3 separate regions of the Homo sapiens genome follow, and regions 2 and 3 are each linked to region 1. Evidence: promoter capture Hi-C in human tissues and cell types (Jung and others, 2019). All regions are on one chromosome and are shown on one strand. The core of a region is centred on a gene start or on the middle of the fragment in contact, and the rest is flanking DNA. Distances in the headings are between cores, read along the strand shown.

Region 1 (4,677 bases), core at 1,427-3,926:
TGACTGTAATCCCAGCTACTTGGGAGGCTGAGGCAGGAAAATCACTTTAACCAAGAGGCAGAGGTTGCAGTGGGCTGAGATCACACCACTGCACTCCAGCCTGGGCGATAGAGCAAGACTGAAAGTTAGCTGGGCGTAGTGGCGCGTGCCTGTAGTCTCAGCTACTTGGGAGGCTGAGGCAAGAGAATCGCTTGAACCCAGGAAGCGGAAGTTGCAGTCAGCCGAGATCATACCACTGCACTCCAGCCTGGCCACAGAGCGAGACTCCGTTTCAAAAGAAAAACAAAACAAAACAAAAAGTGGAACTTTATGTTATCTTTACAAAGGGAACTTAAGCACGGCCTTTGGGTAGAAAAGGAGAGAGCAGAGAGCTCCTCCTATGCCTGTTGCTTCTTATTTGCTTTCAGCTCAAAACAATCCTTAGCCTTATTTTCACTCGTGTCCGTGTGAAGAGACCATCAAACAGGCTTTGTGTGAGCAACAAGGCTGGTTATTTCCCCTGGGTGCAGGTGGGCTGAGTCCGAAAAGAGAGTCAGCGAAGGGAGATAGGGGTGGGGCCATTTTATAGGATTTGGGTAGGTAAAGTAAAATTACAGTCAAAGGGGGTTGTTCTCTGGCAGGCAGGGGCTGGGGTCACCAGGTGCTCAGTGAGGAAGCTTTTGAGCCAGCATGAGCCAGGAGAAGGAATTTCACAAGGTAATGTCATCAGTTAAGGCAGGAACCGGCCATCTGGATGTGTACGTGCAGGTCACAGGGGATATGATGGCTTAGCTTGGGCTCAGAGGCCTGACATTTATTTGTTTGTTTGGAGACAGAGTCTTGCTTTGTTGCCCAGGCAGTGGCACAATCAGAGCTCACTGCAGCCTCGACCTCCTAGGCTCAAGCAATCCTCCTACTTCAGCCTCCCAAGTAGCTGGAACTACAGGCACACACCAAGCCTGGCTAATTTTTTTTTCGTTTTTGTAGAGATGGAGTCTCACTATGTTGCCAGGGCTGGTCTTCAACTCCTGGGCCAAAGCGATCCTCCTGTCTTAGCCTCCCAATGTGCTGGGATCACATGCCTGAGTCACCACACCAGACTTCAAAGTGGCATATTTTAGAGTGACATATTCTGATCCCCTTTACTAGCAATTATCATTATTGCAATTTTACATTTTTTGTGTGTCTGTCTTCCTCACCAGTCTGCAAACAGTACCTGGTTTTGCACATCTCAGCGTCTAACCCTGTGCCTAACACATAGTAAATGTTCTATAAATAATTGTAGGATGTGTAAATAAAGGTGTTGAACCTGGGCTTTCACTTTTTTTTCCTTGCCTTGTTACTACCAAAAAGACAGCCACCCAAGGGACTGGATTTCTATTAAATCCACCCTTTACTGAGCCCTGCTGCTCCTATCTCTGGAGGTGGGTCCTCACCAGAACCCTAGTCCTGTATAGGAAACCAAGGAGCCAAGTGCAGACCACCCAACTAACCTTAATTATAGGACTGGGGATGGAGGGATGGAGGGAGAGAGGAAAAGGCGCAGTAAAATAATGTGCGCAGTGGCTCACACCTGTTGTCGTAACCGAGCGAGTTATAGAGAAACACCACACTTTGAGACTAATTCAGGAGTCCTTTATTGCCGGCGACCGAGAGACGACTACAGCTCAAAATTCTCTCGGCCCTGAAGAAGGGGCTAGATTTCTTTTTATACCTTGGTCTAAATAGGGAAGGGGTAGTCTAGCTGAAGCAATTTTTACAGAAGCAGAACAGGCAAAGAGTTAAAAGATAAATGGTTATAGAAACAGTTACAGGAAAATAAACAGTTCCAGGTGCATGGGGCTTAAATTATCACAAAGAGATAAACGCAGGGGCTTTGGGTACCATCAACCGAGCGCGTTCCCAGGAGCTGCTGGTACAGCTTGCCTCAGTATCTTATCAGTAAGCACATTCCTGGATGTGCTTGGTGTCAGTCTGCACCAGTTATGTCCTTAAGGGAGGGGGACAAGGTGCTGCAAGCGAAGAAACCAAAATGGAGTCTGTCCCGCTCTCTCAGCTAAGAGCGAGTCAATCAGGTTAAAACAAGGTAGGGTATCAAGCTGTAATCCCAGCGCTTTGGGAGGCCGAGGAGGGCAGATCCTTGAGCTCAGGAGACCAGCTTGGGCAACAAGATGAGAGTCTCACACCCCGCCCTGTCTCTACAAAAAACAAAACAAAACAAAACAAAAAAAAGCCAGGCATGGTGGCTCATGTCTGTGGTCCCAGTTACTGCGAGGCCGACGTGAGAGAATCACTTGAGCCCTGGAGATCGAGGCTGCAGTAGCCGTGATCACACTCCAGCCTGGGCGAAAGAGACCCTGTCTCAAAAAACAAACAAAACAATGTGAAATTAAGCCAAAAGCCATCACACGTGCATCCAAAGGACGGCCGCTACCCGCGACCCCTTCCCAACGCACGCGGGAGGTTGCGGGATCAGGGACAGGGGCTTCAGCAGGGAGCCCCCAGACCGGCCCTGACAGGAATTCAAGACCTGGCGCCTGCTCATTCCCCCAGTCGGGGCGGCGGCGGCAAGCCTCGGCCGGCGGCGATCTGCACACCCGCGGAGAAGAGAGGCAGGGGGTCGACCCCACAGCCCAGCCCGGCGCGTCCCCCGCGCCCCCGCGCGAGCCCGAGTCGCCGGCGGAAGTGCTGCGTCGCGCACTTCCGGGTGTTGTCTGGCCGCCGTAGCGCGTCTTGGGTCTCCCGGCTGCCGCTGCTGCCGCCGCCGCCTCGGGTCGTGGAGCCAGGAGCGACGTCACCGCCATGGCAGGCATCAAAGGTGGGCCTGGGTTGCAGGACGCGGGAGGGCTGGGGCCGGCGGGGGAAGATGGGCCGGGGGTCCCACGCGGCCCCCGCACTTCCCCTCCGGGCTCGCGCGCGCGCGTGGGGTCCCTGCGCCGGGGAAGCGACCCCCGCCCCGGCCCTGCGCTTGGCCCGGAGGTGGGCGCGGCGCCCTCGGGCAACGGACGGTTGCGACCCCGGCTTCGCCCCGCAGCCCCCACTTTCTGCCGATTTCGGCAGCCTCTCTCCCACCCATCGCCCCCCGGACAAAATATGAAGTGGTTGGCGGTCAGTGAGGAGTCCCGTCGCGACTTGGACGGCCACACACGTTTTGCAGGAGTTTGCATCCGAGAGAGAGGCAGGCAGAGCGTGGGATTGAGAAGGCTGAGGCTGCTAGAGATGCCAGCTATGGAAAACCAGTCATTTCCCACCGAAAGGCACAAGTGCGGTCTGCGGGCGCTGCACGGGTCTGCCCGAAACCTCGACCCCACGTCCACCCCGGCCGCCCGCGCCCGAGGCTTTACAGGCTCCCGAAACGGGTGCATTTTCATCTGCGGTGTCTGGACCCTAGAGTTGATCCTGTAGGCGACCCCAAAGTGCTCCTGGCTCTCTTCCCTCTCCGCAGTTGCACCCTGAGGCTTTTTCAAATTTCAAAATTTTTCTTTTTTTCCTTTTTTTTTTTTAAGAAGATAAAATACTGGTACAACTTAATGAAAAACTACTGGCTTATTCATGTATTTTCTTTTAAAAAAAGGAATGTTGCATTTGTTCCACCTGTTAGGTAGTTTTGTTGTCAGTGTGATGAGAAGCAAAGTTTTCAGCTACTGCTTAACTAATTACATTGATTTCTTGACCTGCCGCTCTGTAGAAGGGCAGTCAGGCAGGAAGCAGGTAACTTTGGGAGCAGTGGTTTTCTTTGTATTTTTTCTTCTCTAAGGAAAACTTAATCGAGTTTTTTTTCAGGGTCACAGTCTTACTGTTTCTTGTTTATTTTCAATGTCTGAAAACATTTCATTTCCCATATAAAACCTTGTCATTTAAGCAACTGGGATACTTTGTAATCTCCTTTTGAACTATGATAGACTCTAAACCCTTATGTGAAAGGCAGTTATTGTGAATTGCTGTGGTTTTTAGGATGTTGCCCGTTTCCCTGTTCTTCCCTGTTTCTTCAGTGTCAATAATGCGGGGGTCTCTTAAGAAAATAGCTTTGTAATTTACTTCTCCAGACCTAGGGAAATACTGCATTAAACTGATGAAGGTGCCTCAGGTGAACTGCACTTTTGATTTCAGCAGGATTTTCTGGTTGTTATGAGTCAGTATGTTTCTTTCTCTTGGCCTAATATCTTTATATTAGGAAGGAGTGTTGCTGTAATTAGAGACCATTAGGCATTGCTTGAGCCATTTGTCTATTACTTTTTGATATATTGGATTTTCTGGTAACTCCCAGGTTAGAGAAGTGGTCCCTCCTTCTACTCTAATTTCTTTGTAATCACAGAATCAGCATCTTGTCTCTAGAGAGTTTTGCTAGATAATTGGGCTGCTCCATGCCTAGCCTAGAGGCTTTGGGAGTAGAACCCAGACTTATCTAAGCTTTGTCTTCCAAATGTTGCATCACTCAATTACTGTATGAATTCTTGCCTTGTTGATGTGTCATTTAAGAAACAGCTTATATACAAATGATGAAGTGTATATATAAATCTTCCTAGTTGCCAATTTCATAAGATTGAAGAAACTGCAAGTTTTGAGAACACTTTTAAGCAATTTATTTAACCTCTAATTGGCTACCTTATTCGGTATGACTGGAAGATGAGATGTCACATCAAACTGTGTTATGAATATTTAAAAAAAATTTAGTATTTAATCCTGGCGCGGTGGCTC
Region 2 (4,677 bases), core at 1,412-3,911, 480 kb before region 1:
TGTTCATCCTTTATTATAACCATTATCATATGCTAAAAATACATGCTTGCCTCCCTGTCTTCTCCAGTAGCTTTCAAGCTCTTAGAAAACAGGGACTTTGTCCTACTCATGTACTTGTGGACATAGTACCAGGTACAGGGCAGGCATTAAATCAATGTTGATATTTGCTGAATGCAGTGACTGGCATTGGGGTACCCTACAGCTCTCCTCACGCTGTCTCTAAACCACCTTTTCTCCTCCGGATTACATTTGAAGCCCCTCATTTGTAAGAGTCACTATTAGTAAAAACCTTAGGGTTGCCTCATCAAGAGAATGAGAAAGAAAATCTGTCAGAAGAGTAGACAGTCACCACCAGGGTAGGCATGTGGCTGCCTCATGCAGGGCCAGGGCCAGGGCCATGGCTGTGCCTTTCTTCTCTCCCAAGCTAGAGAAGAACGGAGGCTGCGGACTGCCCCCAGCGAATCCCAGTGCCCACATCATCCTGTGGAGAAGCCTTGACTACCCCCAAGCTGAGTCCTGACGGGACAGACGAGTGAGATCCAACTTCCCTTGCACTTCTGGTGATTTATATTGGACTAGAGTCTTCACCAGGGAACCTGTGGACCAAAATCAAAAATTATTTGAAAATTCTGAAGCCAGGCAAACATTTGTGGGTAGCGTGAGAAGAAAAAGATGAACTGTCTGTGCGGAGCAAAGAGAAATGTGCCCTGCTTCCTGATTGGGTGGTCGTGGTGATGGTGGGGCCATCTTTGAAAGAAGAGACTGCTGCTCAGAGCCTTCTGTGTTCTTGATTGCACTGTTCTATTAGCTAAATCATAAGAATTTTTTTAAAGCTTGTTTTTAATACTTAACTGGTACATTAGAACTAGTTTTATTTATCTAGAGATTTTAAAAGGCCCAAAGGCCACAGCCAGCTGCATCGTCCTTGTTGGAATGGATTAGTTTCCCTGTTTATTCATTTCCTACTCACATGTTAAGAGTTGTCCTTTCCATTTGAAAAGTATCTACGTCCACAGTAACTGCCCAGGATTGGCAAACTCCACTGGAGACGCAGCATGTGGAAGAGGAATTAGCTTAACTGGCTGTCCTTGTTAACATTGCCCCAGTTGTCATAAGCTTTTGTCTACCACATATTATCTGTGATATGGAGACAGAAGTCTCACTTCTTTCTGAGCCTGGCTTCTGTCTGTGCTAGGTAACTTTTTGCACTATTCTATTGAGAAGTGAAGCCAGTTGGACTTCCAGGGTCCAGTGGGGACTTGGAGAACTTTTCTGTCTTACAAGAGGATTATAAAATGCACCAATCAGCACTCTGTAGTTAGGATTGTAAAACGCACCAATCAGCACTTTGTGGCTAGCTAGAGGTTTGTAAAATGCGCCAATCAGTGCTCTGTAAAAATGCACCAATCAGCGCTCTGTGTCTAGCTAGAGGTTTGTAAAATGGACCAATCAGCACTCTGTAAAATGTACTAATCAGCAGGACATGGGCGGAGACAAATAACGGAATAAAAGCTGGCCACACCCAGCCAGCAGCGGCTACCCGCTTGGGTCCCCTTCCACTGTGTGGAAGCTTTGTTCTTTTGCTCTTCACAATAAATCTTGCTGCTGCTCACTTTTTGGGCCCGTACCACCTTTAAGAGCTGTAACACTCACCCTGAAGGTCTGTGGCTCCATTCCTGAAGTCAGCGAGACCGCGAACCCACTGGAAGGAAACAACTCTGGACACAATATCTATGCCCTCAGTCATTCCAGCAAACTTGTTCGGTATGGACATTTCTTAAATGGAAATAGCTACTGGCTGGGCGTGGTGGCTCAAACCTGTTAATCCCAGCACTTTGGGAGGCCAAGGCAGGTGTATCGCTTGAGCCCAGCGTGGGCAATGTAGTGAGACCCTGTCTCTACAAAAAATAAAAAATATAATATTTTAAAATGGAAAGACCTAGGTGCAGCGACTTGGCCTAGAGTTGAAAAGCACTTGAATGTCAGGTAGATGGTGATGTCAAATGGAGAAAATGCATTTTCCTTCCTCACTCCCTTGGACCTCAGTGTTCTTATGTGTCAAATGCAGATATTGAGGGAGGAATCTTCTAGAGTTATTTTCAGATTCTGATGTTCTCGAATCTCTCTAAGCTTTGTATCATCATAAACAGTACTTCCTGTTGGAACAGGTGCAATTCTTGCTGTGGCAATACCTATACCAGGGAAGAAACTGAAAATCCCCCAGAGTCCCCAGCTTGTCAAGGAGGCAGGGAAAAGAGCTCTCTTGACTGAGACTCCGGAAATGAGTCATGCACACTGCACCCTGGAGGACACATCTTGAACCAGGGATGAGGGGCCCATCCTGTACAGGGGACAGAAGTGGGGAAGGTGCTTGAGCTTTTTCTGCACCTGTCCCTTAGACGTTCTCCCTACTCCTGGATGCCCAAGGACACCATTAGAAAATGGGCTCCCCACACACTCTCCTAATCCCTGTAAGGAAGAGAAACTCCTGGAGGGGGGATTGAGTTGGGTAACAGGGGAGGGAGAAGCCTGTTCTGAGCAGAGAGGAGGTTAATTAAAGGGGAACCAAAAATAGCCTCCTTCTGGGTGCTGTTCATGGCTCCAAGAAAAGGGGCAGTCAGTGTCTGGAACACAGCAGAGAAGTGGAAAGGAGGGCTGACTTTGGAAATGGGTATTACTCGGGAATGCTTGTATTGAAGGTGGGGGAAGATGGGGTCTTGTGAGTCTTTGCCTTCTTCTCTCCTCACATGGTGGATCAGGGTTGGATTAGGGCAAGTGGTATCAGGCGCTCTACTTGTCCCCTGGGACCTAATGGGATTCCAGAAAGACAAGTGAACCCAGCTGGAGATGTGTGCGTGCCTGGCTGTACTCTACCTATGCCAGCACCCCCGGAAGTGGAGGGGGCCATTCAGCCTCTGATAGTCATGTGCTCCTCTGAAAGTTAAGCTGGGCTTTACATGAGGCAAAAATAAGATGATTGAGTAGAACGAGGGAGGGGGTTTTAGTACATTGCCCAAATCCCTAGAGGCGAAGGCATTTAGCAATGTCCATTGCTAAAGGAATCTGCTCTTCAACAAAATAAGGTCATTCTTAAACATCTTTATTGAGTGCCTACTGAATGCTTGGACAATGGACAAAGATGCTTATAAAAAAACTTTTCTGTGGGCCCTAAAGCATGCTCTCTGGGTCTGCCGGCCTGATCCAAGCTCATTAAAATTCCAGATGTCGGAAGGAGGCTGTGCTCCATCCCATGACTTAAGCCCCCCTTGGTTAGTTCAAAGCAACCTCTGCTGCCCTCATGGAAAGTGCCAGGTTCATGCCCTCAGCTGCACTTCAGTGCAGAAGGGTGCCAGGTGGGTCTGACTCCAGGGCATGGTGAATTTTCTTAAAGCAAAGGGTACTTGAGCCCCCATTGTGTGTGTGAATCCTCAGAAAATGTGTGTGTGTGTTTTTTTTTTTTTGAGGATAGTGTTTGTAGCTTTTACCAGATTTAAAGAAAGAAAGAAAGAAGAAAAGGAAGGAAGGAAGGAAAAGAAAGAAAGAAAGAAAGACAGAAAGAAAGAAAGAGAAAGAAAGAAAGAAAGAGAAAGTAAAAAAGAAAAGGAGAAGGAAGAAAGGAAGGAAGGAGAGAGAAAGAAAAAGAAAGAAAGAAAGGAAGGAGAGGGAAGGAGGGAAGGAGGGAAGGGGAAGGGAAAGGGGAAGGGAAGGGAGGGAAAGGCAAGGGAAGGGAAGAAGAAAGAAAAAGACATGGGAGGGGAGGAGAGAGGAGAGGAGAAGAGGGGAGGGGAGATCAAGCCGCTTTCCCAGGTCCACCAGCTGCTTCACAGCTCAGGGGCAGGGTGGAGCCATTCCTTGTTAGGTCTCTGCTGTCACTTTTCTTATCCTACATACTTTTCTAAAAGCAGGGAACTGTACAATCCCTCCTGCCGGCTTAGCCATCTGAAGGCTCTTTCTTGACTGCATATCCATTCATTGCCATGGAGGGGGAATACCAGAAGAAAAAATCACCAGGTCGACCCTTGCTCCCTGTCTTCAAAGGAGATGTCTCCAACAGACTTCCTTTAGGGCCGGGGGGCTTGTGGCTTTGGCCAGCCATTGTGCAAGCAAAGAAATAACTCCAAAGCTTAGCTCCTGAAAGCAGGGAGCAGAGGGAAGCCATTGCAGTGTCTGGAAAGAGGGCGAGGTCCCCTCTTTTCTGGGTAAGGAAGTGGGAGTGGGGGTGTGAAGCTGGCTGGGACCATAATCTCCATGGAAGAAACGTCAAGCTCTCTAAGGGGTGTATTACCTTTCTGCTGTTAGTTCTAGCCTTTTTCCTGTTTTTTTAAAACTCCAAAACCCATTGATTTTCTTTTACCACTGATGGATGTGTTTGCTAATTTGCTAATAATATTGCCTTCTACTGACAGGAAGGAACTTGTATTTGGTTACTTAATTTTGTTTCAGATGTCAGCCCTGTAGGAGGTGGGGGTGTCTGGACATTGATGAATTGGATATTTTCTTGCTAAAGACGGGGGCACCTTCTCATTTATCTCTGAGTTTTCTCTTTTGTTTACCCACTGCCCACCTCCTGAAGCTTTCTCCGGAGACTGGCTCCCGGGGTGTTTGGGGAGCTCTTCCTCACTGGCTGTGCTGGCCTGAGCCCCCATTCTCCCCCTAACTGGAAAGATCTGTGCTATT
Region 3 (4,677 bases), core at 776-3,275, 450 kb after region 1:
CATCAGGGCCTTGCCTGCTCCTTCAGTGGGGAGTCCTTGTGAAGGGCTTGTGCTGTGGAAAACCAGTCTCTCTAGCTTTTGTAATTTTCTCAAGCAACGAAAAAGCAAACAAACGCAAAAAGCTTATTCTGCTTTAATACCCATTTCCGTCAAAGGAGTGTATGTGTGTGTTAGGAGAGTGCTCAGGCTCATACTGGAAAGTTAGGTGTTGGTGAGGACTGCTTCAGGTGCGATCCTGACCTGGTCAGACCACGTATCTTTTGATGTTTATGGTAATTCCACATTCCTTCATGATGGGAGAAGGGAGACGGAGATGATAAGATGTATCAAGGGATTTATCAAGTGTAAGTTCACCTTTATCTCTTTTAGGCTTCTGCCTCACTAATACGTTACTACTACTCAGCAATTTTGAGTTTAGGGGATTTCAGACCAAATCCTCTTTTCTGCTGGGCTGGGTTTTGTGCAAATATCAATGGTGAATTGTCTCTAAGCATCAGTAAAGAACTAATGGGAAGTAATGCTTCAGGATAAAAACAGAGAAAAGTCTGGGAAACATAAATTCCAGCAGTCAGGCTGACACTGAAATCTGATTCCAGCTTATCTCTGTTGCTTATCTCTTTAGGATCAGATATCTTAAAGGACATACTCATTTCATTTTTAAAAGTTTCTAAAGGAAGGACCTACTGATCAGGTAACCACCTCTACCCACCCCACCCCAGTTAGCCAGGAAGATAAGGAAGGACCACTGACAGGCTGCAGGCCAAACACGTTCCCCCTGAGGGCTCTGCCATTTGGAATCAGTTGTATGTATCAGTTTTATGGTCTTCTGCTATCACAGTGGGAACAGACAAGCATGGGCCACAGTGTACTGAGGATTTAAAAGACTCAGAATGTCTTAAAATAGCCTGGTCGCTAAACAACAATAATAGTTTGGCATTCCTGAGAATGGTTGTTTGTTTAAAATTCAAGGCATTGGTTCTGGTAGCAGTTAGTTTCCACTAGCTGGGCTCCCACGTGAGTTACTCTGGAAATCACATGGTCTCATCACAACAGGAAGCACAGGGATCTATTAAGCCCCTCCCAGCCCCTCTGAGGGTGGTCCCTAAGCCTTGGGCTACAGGCACCTACACACCCTAGAACACAGTAGATGCTGTGGACCTGATCATTTTAAGGACTCTGGTGTTGTTGCTTTCACCCTGACTAATAATGATCAGTCCACTCTTAGGGGCTTATTTCTCCCACCTAGATGCACAGGCAGTCTGTCTTTCTATCACCAAGTCCTGAGGAGGTAGTTTTTACTGCCTTGTTGAGAGGAGAAGGGAGTCAGGAAGGCCAACCAGCAACAGTATGTTAAACCACATTGTTGGGGTCCCATCATATCTGAAAATGGGTACAAACTGCCCTCTGAACGTATCATCAGCAGTCAGCTCCTGACTCCCTACCATCCTGAGAGAAGCTCGTGCCATGCAAGCTGGCTGTGGGGAAGCCTCACACAGGTTCTGCTACTTTCTGGTTTCGCCATAGAGCAGTCCCACATCACACCGAGCAAAGCAGTTTTCTGTTGCTAGCCCCCTTTCTGTATTGAAGAGTTTCGGGGGATGGGAAGGATGCAGAGACACTGGGCCTGGAATGGCTCCTTAGATGGTAGGAAGGAATAAAGTGACTCTGTTGACCTTGCACTGTAGACTCAGGGAAAGTACTGAATGGCAGAGTTACTAATGACTTCTATCAAATCACCTTTTGCTGACTCCCGTGTTAGTCCTGGATAGCGTCCTTGGCACACTTGATTTCAGATTTTGACAGGTGATAAAAGCACATATTGAGATTGCTGCTTCACAGGGCCCAGATTCCTTGCTATTGACTGATGTTATTTTTGCCTTTCCTGAGAAGCTCCCTCATGTGTTTGCTGTTACTTTTAATGGATTGCTTCCTGATACATGGGAGGCCCAGGCACTTGCCCTTCAATCTGGCCAACTGCAGCCTGACCTGGGTGGAATTGGAGCTGCCTGAGGAACACTTAGACCAGGCACTTGGCAATATGACTCACTTTTTTCCCCTAAAAGTTAGTCTGTAAAGAGCAACTGGAAATGTTCCTGTTTACATCTTTGTGGAGTGTAATTTTAATCAGGATTCTCAAGGTTTTTCACTTCAATTCTCTGAATTTTTAAGATCTTAAATGCCCTGTGGTCACAGTATTTGGCCCTGTACTTCTGAGGGCTACGTGGAAAATGCTTGATGATCATTACTGACTTGTCAATAGTAATTATGCCAATAAACAGAAAAGTCTTCCAGTTCTGGTCTGTTGAGGCCCTGCCGTTAAGCCATGGTTTTCCCAAAGGCTCTGCAGTGGGTTCTCATGGGATGTCTTTCATTGGTTCTTTCTCTCCCTTTTCCTCAGAGGGTCGCATTTCCTGTTTTGTGCAGGAAATTCCCACTGTTTTGGGTTCCCCAGCTACAGTCGGAAAGACATCAGAGTGTTCAAGGCGGAGTCCAGGCCTGAGATCTCAGCAGGCCAGACAGGCAGCAGATGCTTGTTGCTTTTCTTGTGTTATATTTTTCGTTCCCTTACTTAGCATTTGTGGGACCAAAGCCAACAAACAACAGGTTGTTAAAAGAATGAGAGTAATTTGACTTCCGACAGTGATTGGGGCTCGGGGTTGTTGGGTGTTTTGTTTTCTGATTTGAAACTAGCTGTATGGTAACCACTAACTCTCGCCTTATTCTTTTCTTGCAGATGAGCTCACAGTGCCTGCACTTTACCCCAGTAGCCCTGAAGTGTGGGCCCCGTACCCTCTGTACCCAGCGGAGTTAGCGCCTGCTCTACCTCCTCCTGCTTTCACCTATCCCGCTTCACTGCATGCCCAGGTAATTGATACCCATCGGCCAGGACTTCACTCACTTCACCACCAGTCCTTTCAAACTTGGTTCCCGAGAGCACACCATACAACTAACACCTATCCAGCTAACAGATCCACCCTCAAGAGATTAATGATCCCCTCTAAATCAAGCTGACACTCCTTCAGGACTGACGAGGATCGTCTGACAGCAATGATATCACCCACTGCCTGATGTTTGCCCCAAATGACACCTCTCTCTTCCTTAATGATCTCACCTCATATCGCACATGAGAGACCGGGGCAGGTTTATCCACCTGGCTCCCAGCTAGCTAGAGGGCATCACCAGAGTGTATACGTGTGTGCCTTGTGTGGAAGGGCTGCAGAGGAAGGTGTGTGCTAGGAGAAGGGGATATGTGCGTCTGTGCGTGTTTCTGTGTGTTGAGAGTTTTCCACTCTCGTGTACGGTGAGAAGAATCTCTGACCAAAGGGAAAGCTTCCAGGGGGGAAGGCTGTACTTTCTTAAATATGTTACAGGAAAGATTAAGGGTTCCTTCTCTCCATTTTCAGGAAACCCTGTAGAAAAGGAGATACAAGATAGTGTCTAAGATGGAATTACAGGTCAAGGTAGAGATCTCTATTCTGACCAGCTTTCTTTCTTAGTTAAAAATAGCCTGATTTTTATAAACAAACTTCCTGTTTCTCCGCAAAGATTACTGTCTACATACTAACACTTCCTCTCCCCTTGGAGAAAATATTTCTCTTAGCTTCGCTTTTAGTGCAAGTGGTAGTAATCAGTGTAAAGATTCACCTCTGGAGATCACCACTCATTCTTTGGCCTGCAAAGATTGATGACCAGTAACAAATAGAAAGTACGTACGTAGGTTTCATTTGTCTTTCTGCATGTGTAATTCAGCCTTTAAATTTTAAATTTTTAAAAATTATTAGGCTGGACAGGCAGAGTTTTCGTTTGCCTGTTTTGCTCAGTGTTTGTTTACAAGGCTGGGTGAAATAAACAGCTTCCCAGAAAACCTCCTTCTGACTTAAAACTCTTTTATGTTGTACAGAATTCCCTGTCTTGATAAAGACCACCTAGAAGCAGCCCCCAGCGAGGGTTCTTGAAAGTCATGGGGTCGAGATTGTTGTTGGCTGAACATCTTTTAATTCTGAGTTACCAACACGTTGTGCGTGCATTGATGACCCGGCTTCCTGGCCTGCCCTTGGTGCCTGAGCCCCAGTAATGATTGCCCTCTATGTTGGGAGAAGAAGGGAGAAAGTAGTACAAGTAGTGAAGAAAAAAATGTAGGTGGTGTTGGTGGTTGAGAGTACATGGCACAGAAAATAAAGGAGCCAGGATTACCTGTGCCTTTGGCTTCTCCTTCCCCTGCTGCTTTTTCTTCCTTTTTCCATGTCAGTGCTTGGGAACCCTCACAACTGGCAGGTAACGGGGTCGGGATAAAATGTAAACCTGTGGGTGTCTTCTGCTGAGTCATTAGGATCTTTGTAGCAGGCTGCGGATAAATATGTGGATGACATGGGGCAACTAAGAGCCCCTTTTGCTTGCCACCTCCCACCCCTGCTCTGGATGGTGTCTCCTCTTGCTAGACTGCCGGGTACAGATCACGTGGCAATTAAGGCAAATGTTAATAAATACCATGAAACAGTGGTTTGCATAGTCTTCTGAATAGCCATGGCTTTGGTTAGTCAGCAACAAAGCCTTTCACCCTTACCCTGGATAATCAAGAGTTGACAACAGCCAGAAAGTACTGGGAATAGTGGCTTTTGGCCATGACATCTGCTCATTCTTCATTCATGTAATGGGTCAAATCAGAAGTAATTCTGG

The links. The method cuts DNA at HindIII sites, captures the fragments that hold promoters and counts their contacts. A contact is called where the count stands out against the background at its distance.
Region 2: a contact is called between a fragment that was not itself captured here and the fragment with the promoter of LEPROTL1 in region 1, in 1 of the 25 tissues and cell types used here (mesenchymal stem cells).
Region 3: a contact is called between a fragment that was not itself captured here and the fragment with the promoter of LEPROTL1 in region 1, in 1 of the 25 tissues and cell types used here (adrenal gland).

What each region holds. Positions count from the first base shown.
Region 1 is chr8:30,092,732-30,097,408 of GRCh38, forward strand. It overlaps LEPROTL1 (leptin receptor overlapping transcript like 1), which reads left to right and starts at 2,677. Exons shown (of 4, transcript NM_015344.3): 1 at 2,677-2,797. The coding sequence starts at 2,782. RefSeq lists an enhancer at 240-409 and a silencer at 2,525-2,984. The HindIII fragment of the contact is 5,830 bases long and covers 1-4,677 here.
Region 2 is chr8:29,612,481-29,617,157 of GRCh38, forward strand. No RefSeq gene overlaps it. Among named protein-coding and RNA genes, the nearest start is that of LINC02948, 53 kb to the left of the region's middle. The HindIII fragment of the contact is 3,374 bases long and covers 975-4,348 here.
Region 3 is chr8:30,541,760-30,546,436 of GRCh38, forward strand. RBPMS (RNA binding protein, mRNA processing factor) reads left to right here. Exons shown (of 9, transcript NM_001008710.3): 6 at 2,735-2,865. Among named protein-coding and RNA genes, the nearest start is that of SMIM18, 94 kb to the right of the region's middle. RefSeq lists enhancers at 1-20, 21-630, 1,239-1,846, 1,847-2,454. The HindIII fragment of the contact is 5,733 bases long and covers 1-4,677 here.